Linked DNA regions of Homo sapiens: all the other regions are linked to region 3. Evidence: promoter capture Hi-C in human tissues and cell types (Jung and others, 2019). All regions are on one chromosome and are shown on one strand. The core of a region is centred on a gene start or on the middle of the fragment in contact, and the rest is flanking DNA. Distances in the headings are between cores, read along the strand shown. Region 1 overlaps LOC105376156 (a long non-coding RNA gene). Region 2 has its middle 46 kb from the start of PTCH1. Region 3 holds the start of HSD17B3 (hydroxysteroid 17-beta dehydrogenase 3).

Region 1 (2,700 bases), core at 6-2,505, 910 kb after region 3:
TCTTTGTTTCTAATTTTATTTGGGTCTTCTCTCTTTTTTTCTTAATCTAGCTAAGGGTTTGTTGATTTTGTTTATTTTTTCAAAAAACCAACTTTTCATTTTATTGATCTGTATTTTTAAGTCTCAGTTTCATATATTTCTGCTCTGATCTTTATTATTTATTTCCTTCTACTAATTTAGGGTTTGGTTTTTTCTTTTTTTCTAGTTCCTTATGGCACATTTTAGGTTGTTTATTTAAAGTCTTTCTACTTTTTTGATATAGATATTTATTGCTATAAACTTCCCTCTTAGTACTGCTTTTGCTATATTCAATAGATTTGGTATGTTGTATTTCCTTTGTGATGTAGTTCAATAAATTTTTTAATTTTCTTCTTTATTTCTTTTCTCACCCATAGGTTGTTCAAGAGCATGTTGTTTAGTTTCCATGTGTTTTGTGGTTTTCAAGGTTCTTCTTGCTACTGATTTCTAGTTTTATTCCATTTTTGTTAGAAAAGACACTTGATATGATTTATATTTTTAAAAAATCTGTTGAGACTTGTCACATGGCCTAAGATATGATCTGTTCTGGAGAATGTTCCATGTCCTGATGAAAATAACGTGTATTCTGCAGCATTTGGGTGAAATGGTCTGTAAATGTCGCTTAGGCCTATTTGGTCTGCTATGTAGTTTAACTCTGATGCTTGAATTCATGCTTTTAAGTACTTTTTTGGAATTTGAGGATTTCCCTTACTTTTTGAAAATGTAACTATAAAGTCTTTAAAAAATAAGCATTTTTAGGGATTTTGTAGAGGAATGATTTTCAGGACATCTAGTCTACCTTATTGCTATTACTTCTGTACAAGATTTCTTGGATCATCCAAGTAATCTTTTTGTTTTGCGAGCCTGCCATACACATTGCAGCTTCCTAACCATAGCTCATTATGTCTTGTCTCTTTGGAATGCCATAACCATGTTCACTCACTCTCACCTCGAAGCTTGTCTAAGCATTGTTGTTTTGTTTTGTTTTTTTTGAGATGGAGTTTCACTCTTGTTGCCCAGGTTGGAGTGCAATGGCACGATCTCGACTCACCACAACCTCCACCTCCTGGTTTCAAGCGATTCTCCTGCCTCAGCCTCCCGAGTAGCTGGGATTACAGGCATGTGCCACTGTACCCGGCTGATTTTGTATTTTTAGTAGAGACAGGGTTTCTCCATGTTGGTCAGGCTGGTCTCGAACGCCCGACCTCAGGTGATCCGCCCACCTCGGCCTCCCAGAGTGCTGGGATTACAGGCATGAGCCACTGTGCCCAGCTAGCGTTGTTCTTTTTTAAGGGCTAGATCAAGTCCTGCTTCCTCCATAAAGTCTTTCCCTACAACTTTAGGTTTCCATAGGCGTTCCTGTTATACTTTGTGTAACCCAGTTATCACTTACCTGTGCTGTAATGCTGCTTATCATTTTCTTTAGTCACTACCAGTTTTGAGGGCTTCCTACATGTCAAGCACAGAGTCAAGTACTTTTCATGTATTATACCATTTAACCTTATAAAAACCCTGACAGGTGACTACAGCCAGCACCCAATTTTTTAAATGAGAAAATCCTAGTGTCAGAGAAGTTAAGGAACTTTCCCAAGGTCATATAGCTAGTAAATTAATGGAGGCCAGATTCATATCCAGGACCACTGGATTTCAAATTTCATTCTAATACCCACTAAACAAAACCACATTACACAAAACTAAACGTGTAAGTTTCACATTAAGTTTTCACAGTCATATAGTTTGTTCTCTAAGGGTAGAAAAAATACCTCATACATATTCTCTGCATCCAACACAAAATTATTTTCTCAACAAATATCAATTACTTGTTTATTAATCCGACATGTATTAAACCATCTACTGTGACAGACAGCATGCTAGACTTCATGTTGCAGAAAAAAAGCAGACAAAATCTCTGACCTTGAAGAGTTCAAAAGCCAATAGAGAGTCCTCCTTACCTGCAAGAGATACATTCCAAGACCCCCAGAGGATGCCTGAAACCACACATAGTACCAAACGCTATATATACTAGTTTTTTGGTCTGATAACCAAGAGGACTACCAAGTAACTAGTGGTCAGGCAGCATATGCTGAGTAGATATGCTGGATAAAGAAATGATTCACGTCCTGGGTGGGATGGAGCAGAAAGGGGCAAGATTTCATCATGCTACTCAGAACAGTGCAAAATTTAAAACTTATGAATTCTTTATTTATGGAATTTTCCATTTAATATTTTCAGACCACTGTTGACCACAAGTAACTGAAACTAACTTTCCAAGCAAAAGCATGGATAAGAGGAGACAACTGTAATAGGACTTCCAATTCCACCAAGATGAAGTAGCTCCTTTTCCCCCAGGTCCTCTCCTTTACAACTAAAACCCATGGACATAACACAACAAAATAAAAAAATGCTGACAAAAGAAATCAACCTATATACCTATAATCAACCTATAAGAAATGACCTATATAAATGGAGAGACATACTAATTCATGAATTGGAAGATTCAGTATAGTAAGCATGTCATTTCTTCCCAAATTGATCTACAGATGTAATGAAATTCCTATCAAAATCCCAACAAGGTTTTTTTATAGACAAAGGTAAGTTTATTGTAAAATTTATATGAAAAAAGCGCAGGCCCAAGAATAGCTAAAACAATCTGGATGAAGAAGAAGAAAGTGGGAGAAATCA
Region 2 (2,826 bases), core at 327-2,826, 750 kb after region 3:
GGTAAACTCTGAGGAAAGCGATGAGGGGGACTTTGCTTCCATCAGCGTATTGAATTTGGAAAGTCTGTGGGGGAAAAAGAATTACACATATGCAGGCATAACCTCTTAACACACTTTCCAAGGATCTCAATACTCAAAATGGGAAGAACTGCAACGTTGTGGGTGGTATCATGGAAAAAGCTAGGAGGAGAGAGAAAAAGATTTTCATCCCATTGTCTCTGCCAATAAGTAGTTCTGGTCCTTAGGCAATCTGCTTGGTCTTCAGTTTTCCTCATTTCTGTAAGGAAGTATTTGGATGTACCAACAATTTCTTCTAGCTCAAACATTCTGTAAACCTATGGATACATGTTCTTATCCATACTATCTTTTACATAAGACTACGTGAGCAAAAACTTGATCTCAGTACTTGACTGAACTACTTGTACCAGCCATCTTTTTAAAATCTGTCCCAGGCAGTATTAAATTTCCAACTGTGCCTGCTGGGCCAAAAGTCCCAGCAGCTCGCCCCAGAAGTACAGGCAATCAAGGAGTGTCACCTTCTTCAAGTGTGTGTATTCATCTGGGACCTCAACAAGTGCCTTACTTCTCTCCCGCCTCTTCCTTCGGTTATGAAAAAAGCAAACTCCACAGCATAACATAACACAACAGGCACAAGAAACGAGGGTGGGGAAATGTGAATAAGTCTGAAAAATCACAGCCAAAGAGAAAGACATCAAAGTCCTACAGAGTTCTTAGAGTTCACCCTCAAATTTGGCCCCCAAGTTTCTGGAAGCCAGAGAGGAGAAGGAAGCCTGGGGAAGAGCAGACCAGGTACTCAGTGACATCTCTGCAGTGCAGTCAGTGGGAGAAAGCAGCTGACTTATTTTTGTATTATTTCTCACAAAAGCTGTGGTACAGTCTGTCTGTCTCCCTATGGCTGGAAAGTCAGGTGACACCCAGTACTGGAGAAGTGAAGGAAGCAGGGAAGAGCATGTGGTGGGTGGGGCAGGTGCCACTTGCGTAGGGTGGCTGGGGAAGCTCAGATCAGGGGCATGTGAGCAGAGGTCTGCAGGAAGTAAGGGAGAAGCCCGGATACCTGGGGAAGAGCACTCCAGGTAAAGGGAAGAGCAAATGCACAGGTGCCGAGCTTGGTGTGTCTGAGGGACAGGAGGGAGGCCAGAGACTGGAGTAGGGCAGGTGGAGGAAATAGTGACAGGGGATGTGATTGGGGAGGAAGAGTCTCTGGGGTGGTGTGAAGGAGCAGATCCTGTGTGGCCAGCAAGGACTTTGGCTTTCACTGTAGGAGACATGGGGAGATATGTAGGCTTTGGAGGAGAGTTCCTGGTGTATGTAGCTGGAAATAATCACTACAGCTTCTTCCTCCTTCTGAAATACCCAGAAGCCTCAAAGAGAGAGAGCCATGACCCCTCCTCTGCCCGTGTCTGGGTCTTCACCATCCAACCTGAAGAGCTCCTAAGCTCTGCGAATGAGCACCTCCATACCTTTTCACACACATGCCTTGCCCTCGTCCTGGCTGCCTTAGTCCATTTGGGCTATATAACAAAAATGCCACAGACTCCATGATTTATAAAGGACAGAAATGTATTGCTCACGGTTCTGGAGTCTGGAAGTCCAAGATCAAGGCACTGGCAGAGCAGGTGTCTGGTGAGGGCAGCTCCTGCTTCCAAGATGGTGCCTTGTTGCTAGGTCCTCATACAACAAGAGGCAGAAGCACAAAAGACCTAGCTAGCTCCCTCCAGCCCTCTTACAAGGCACTAATTCCATCCCTGAAGACAGCCCTCATGGCCTGACCACCTCCTAAAGGCCTCACCTCTTAATACTTTTGTTTTGGGGACTGTTTCAACATGAATTTTGGAGACGACATGAACATTCAAACCATGGCATTGACCTTGGTTTCCAAGGCCGGATCCCCAGGAGGGCTAAGATAGTGGTTTTCAATTTGTCTTTGTGCCTTGTAGTCTGTGGGTTCCTCGGAGAGATTGTAGGAGCAATAGTCAGTGGATTCCAAGCATCCCACCATGGCTGCTTCAACAAGCCTGGTTCTGTTTCTACCTGTGTCAAAGCTTACATTTCCTATATATTTGAGTACTTTGTCACTTGGAAAGTGTCTTCCTAGAGAAAGGACTGGAAGGGTCTTCACCAGAGTGTTCTTGGTTATCACTGGTTACCATGGGCATAGGAGGTGTGATGGAAGAAGGGCGCAGGGGGTGAAGGCAAAGCTTATTCTTCTAGATTGTTTCAATTGTCTACAAGTCATTGTACAAGGCATAAATTTTGCTCATTTTAAAAAATGATATGAAAAAATTAAAACCTGCCAAGTCATTTTTCAGCTCTAGGATGTGAGCCTTCTGAGGTGGTTTCTGGTGGATGCTATTCAGTCTGGATAGAGAAGAGAAGGCTGGAAGGGAGTGGAAAAGAGGGAGGCTTTGCTGTTTGGGGACAGCCCCAAACGCTCTAAATATAATAAGAAAAGGCCAGCTTTGGTGAGTTCGTTAAGTGAGTCCAAAGGAAGCGTGTTGAACTGGATGGCTTTCAGCCCTAGATACAACCAAGCAGAAAACAGCAGCTTGAGAGGGTGCCTCTACCAGCTTCCCAGGGCTGCCAACCAATGACCACAGATCACCGAAGACCACAGACCTGGTGGACTAAACAACAGAAATGGGCCCTCTCACAGCTCTGGAGGCTGGAAGTCCAAGATCAAGGTGTGGGCAGGGCCATGCTCCCCACCAAGGCTTTAGAGGAGAATCTTTCCCTGCCTCTCCCAGCTGTGGGTAGCTCTGGGCATTGCTTGGTTTGTGACTCCAATCTCTGCCTGCCTCTCCACAT
Region 3 (2,700 bases), core at 40-2,539:
CTCCTCCCTCCTGCTCTGGCCTTTTCCTCCCTTACTCTCTGTGGCCAGTCCCTCTGCTGTGTTGTCCTAGTGTTTTTTTTTTTTTTGAGATGGAGTCTTGCTCTGTCGCCCAGACTGGAGTGCAGTGGCACAATCTCAGCTCACTGCAACTTCCACCTCCCAGGTTCAAGCGATTCTCCTGCCTCAGCCTCCGAAGTAGTTAAGATTACAGGCATGCTCCACCACACCCAGCTAATTATTGTATTTTTAGTAGGTCTCAATCTCCTGACCTTGTGATCCGCCTGCCTCGGCCTCCCAAAGTGCTGGGATTACAGGCGTGAGCCACCATGCCTGTCCTGTCCTAGTTCTTATTCCTCAAATACGTGGATTTTTCTCACTTCAGGCATTGTACTAGCCGTTCCATTAGCCTGGAGGGGGAAACTCATCTTTGCGGAGCTGGCTCCTTTTCATTCAAATTTCAACTAAAAATGCCACCTCTTCATGGAATTCCTTCCTGAACACCCTCTCTGAAGCATTCCCTGAGTAGCTACTCAAACACATCATTCAATAGTGCTTTTTCATAGCACTGATGTTATCTTTTTTTTTTTTTTGAGACAGAATCTCACTCTGTCACCCAGGCTGGAGTGCAATGGCGTGATCTTGGCTCACTGCAACCTCCGCCTCCCAAGTTCAAGTGATTCTCCTGCCTCAGCCTCCCAAGTAGCTGGGATTACAGGTGCCCACCACCAGGCCTGGCTAATTTTTGTATTTTAAGTAGAGATGAGGTTTCACCATGTTGGCCAGGCTGGTCTTGAACTCTTGACTTCATGTGACCCGCCTGCCTTGGCTTCCCAAAATGTTGGGATTATGGGCGTGAGCCACTGCCCCATCTGATGTTATCTTATTTATCTGCTCATCATCTGTCCCTGCTACCAGAATCTAAGCTCCAAACCAGAGAGACCCTCTGTGGTCACTATTAACTTCCTAATGCCTTCAAGAGGGGACTCCACCTGGTAGGCAGTCAATACATAGTGCTAAATGTATGAATAATTGCCTTGGATTCTGCATCCTTTTTAACTTTCCCAAATTCAGGGAGAGAACTGTGGGCTGCCATTTTATATTTGTCCAGGCTTTGTTTTTTTCCCTTCATGTCCACCTTTTACTTTTTCACCAGCTCCTCCACAGTAACAAAAGCCTTATTCAAAGGCCTGTGAGTCAGAGGATTATGTAAAGAAGTTACTTTAATCTAGATGCCCCTGACTTGATGGAACACGTCCAGTGACTCCTGGAAGAAGATCTGGAGGTCTCCAGAGCAGCGTGGTCCCAGGAGGCATACACAGAGAGCCACGGCCAGGGCTGAAACAGTCTGTTGAGTGCAGCCATGGGGGACGTCCTGGAACAGTTCTTCATCCTCACAGGGCTGCTGGTGTGCCTGGCCTGCCTGGCGAAGTGCGTGAGATTCTCCAGATGTGTTTTACTGAACTACTGGAAAGTTTTGCCAAAGTCTTTCTTGCGGTCAATGGGACAGTGGGCAGGTAAGGGAGTGTTCCATCTCATGTTTTTTTGCTGCTGTTGTTCCTGCTTGTTACTATTATTATTATTTTTGAGACAGACACTTGCTCTGTCACCCAGGCTGGAGTGCAATGGCGCGATCTTGGCTCACTGCAACCTCCGCTTCCCGGGTTTAAGCAATTCTCCTGCCTCAGCCTCCCAAGTAGCTGGGATTATAGGCGCCTGTCACCACACCTGGCTAATGGTGTTTTTTTTTTTTTTTTGAGACAGAGTCTCACTCTGTTGCCCGGGCTGGAGTGCAGTAGTGCGATCTCTGCTCACTGCAACCTCTGCCTCCTGGGTTCAAGCAATTCTCCTGCCTCGGCCTCCCAAGTAGCTGGGATTACAGGCACACACTACTACGGCTGGCTAATTTTTTGTATTTTAGTAGAGACAGGGTTCCCCCATGTTGGCCAGGCTGGTCTCGAACTCCTGACCTCATGATTTGCCCACTTTAGCCTCTCAAAGTGCTGAGATTACAGGCGTGAGCCACCGCACCCAGCCAACGTTTTGTATTTTTAGTAGAGACAGGGTTTCACCCTGTTGGCTAGGCTGGTCTCAAACTCTTGACCTTGTGATTCACCCGACTCGGCCTCCCCAACGGCTGGGATGACAGGCGTGAGCCACCGCACCCAGCCCCTGCTTATTATTATTTATGTCTCAAAAGGGATATTGCATTTTTTTCTCTTTGAGAGCAAAGAAGTAATTCCTTTGGGTAATTTTAATTGGGGGGATTAGAAAAGTGTGAGTGAAATTAGAATGGTCTGCAACACAAGCTGTAGGGCATTAGGGGAACACTAGGGCAGAAGGCTACCCAGCCCTTGCTAAGCACTTATCCTCTCAACCCCATTAGATGAGTTTTCTTCTTTTGGGAGTTTCCTGCTAATACAAATAATAAATAATGCAGAAATTTCTGCATCCTCATCTCTAAATTTACAAAAAGCCCAGGGTGCTTTCACTTTACTAAAAGGTGTTTCCAAATTTTGAAATCTAAATAATTTTAACTCATTGTATTAAAAAAAGGATCCAAGTGTTTTTAAGAAATGAAGGTGTTACAAAATCAAGGCAACGCATAACTCTATGGAGCCATGTTTTCAGGATGGTATGGAATGGAATCTGGGTCTGGCTGGTGTCAATTAATGCTGCCTCCCCATGGGATTTATCTACTGG

What was found. Contacts are between HindIII fragments. The study calls those that stand out against the background at their distance.
Region 1: a fragment that was not itself captured here is called in contact with the fragment with the promoter of HSD17B3 in region 3 in 1 of the 25 tissues and cell types used here (dorsolateral prefrontal cortex).
Region 2: a contact is called between a fragment that was not itself captured here and the fragment with the promoter of HSD17B3 in region 3, in 1 of the 25 tissues and cell types used here (lymphoblastoid cells).

What each region holds. Positions count from the first base shown.
Region 1 is chr9:95,392,580-95,395,279 of GRCh38, reverse strand. All of the region lies in intron 2 of LOC105376156 (a long non-coding RNA gene), which reads left to right. Among named protein-coding and RNA genes, the nearest start is that of FANCC, 76 kb to the right of the region's middle. The HindIII fragment of the contact is 5,875 bases long and covers 1-2,700 here.
Region 2 is chr9:95,553,844-95,556,669 of GRCh38, reverse strand. No RefSeq gene overlaps it. Among named protein-coding and RNA genes, the nearest start is that of PTCH1, 46 kb to the right of the region's middle. The HindIII fragment of the contact is 5,995 bases long and covers 1-2,826 here.
Region 3 is chr9:96,300,765-96,303,464 of GRCh38, reverse strand. It overlaps HSD17B3 (hydroxysteroid 17-beta dehydrogenase 3), which reads left to right and starts at 1,289. Exons shown (of 11, transcript NM_000197.2): 1 at 1,289-1,514. The coding sequence starts at 1,361. It overlaps SLC35D2-HSD17B3 (SLC35D2-HSD17B3 readthrough), which reads left to right. Exons shown (of 26, transcript NR_182427.1): 16 at 1,154-1,514. The HindIII fragment of the contact is 9,231 bases long and covers 1-2,700 here.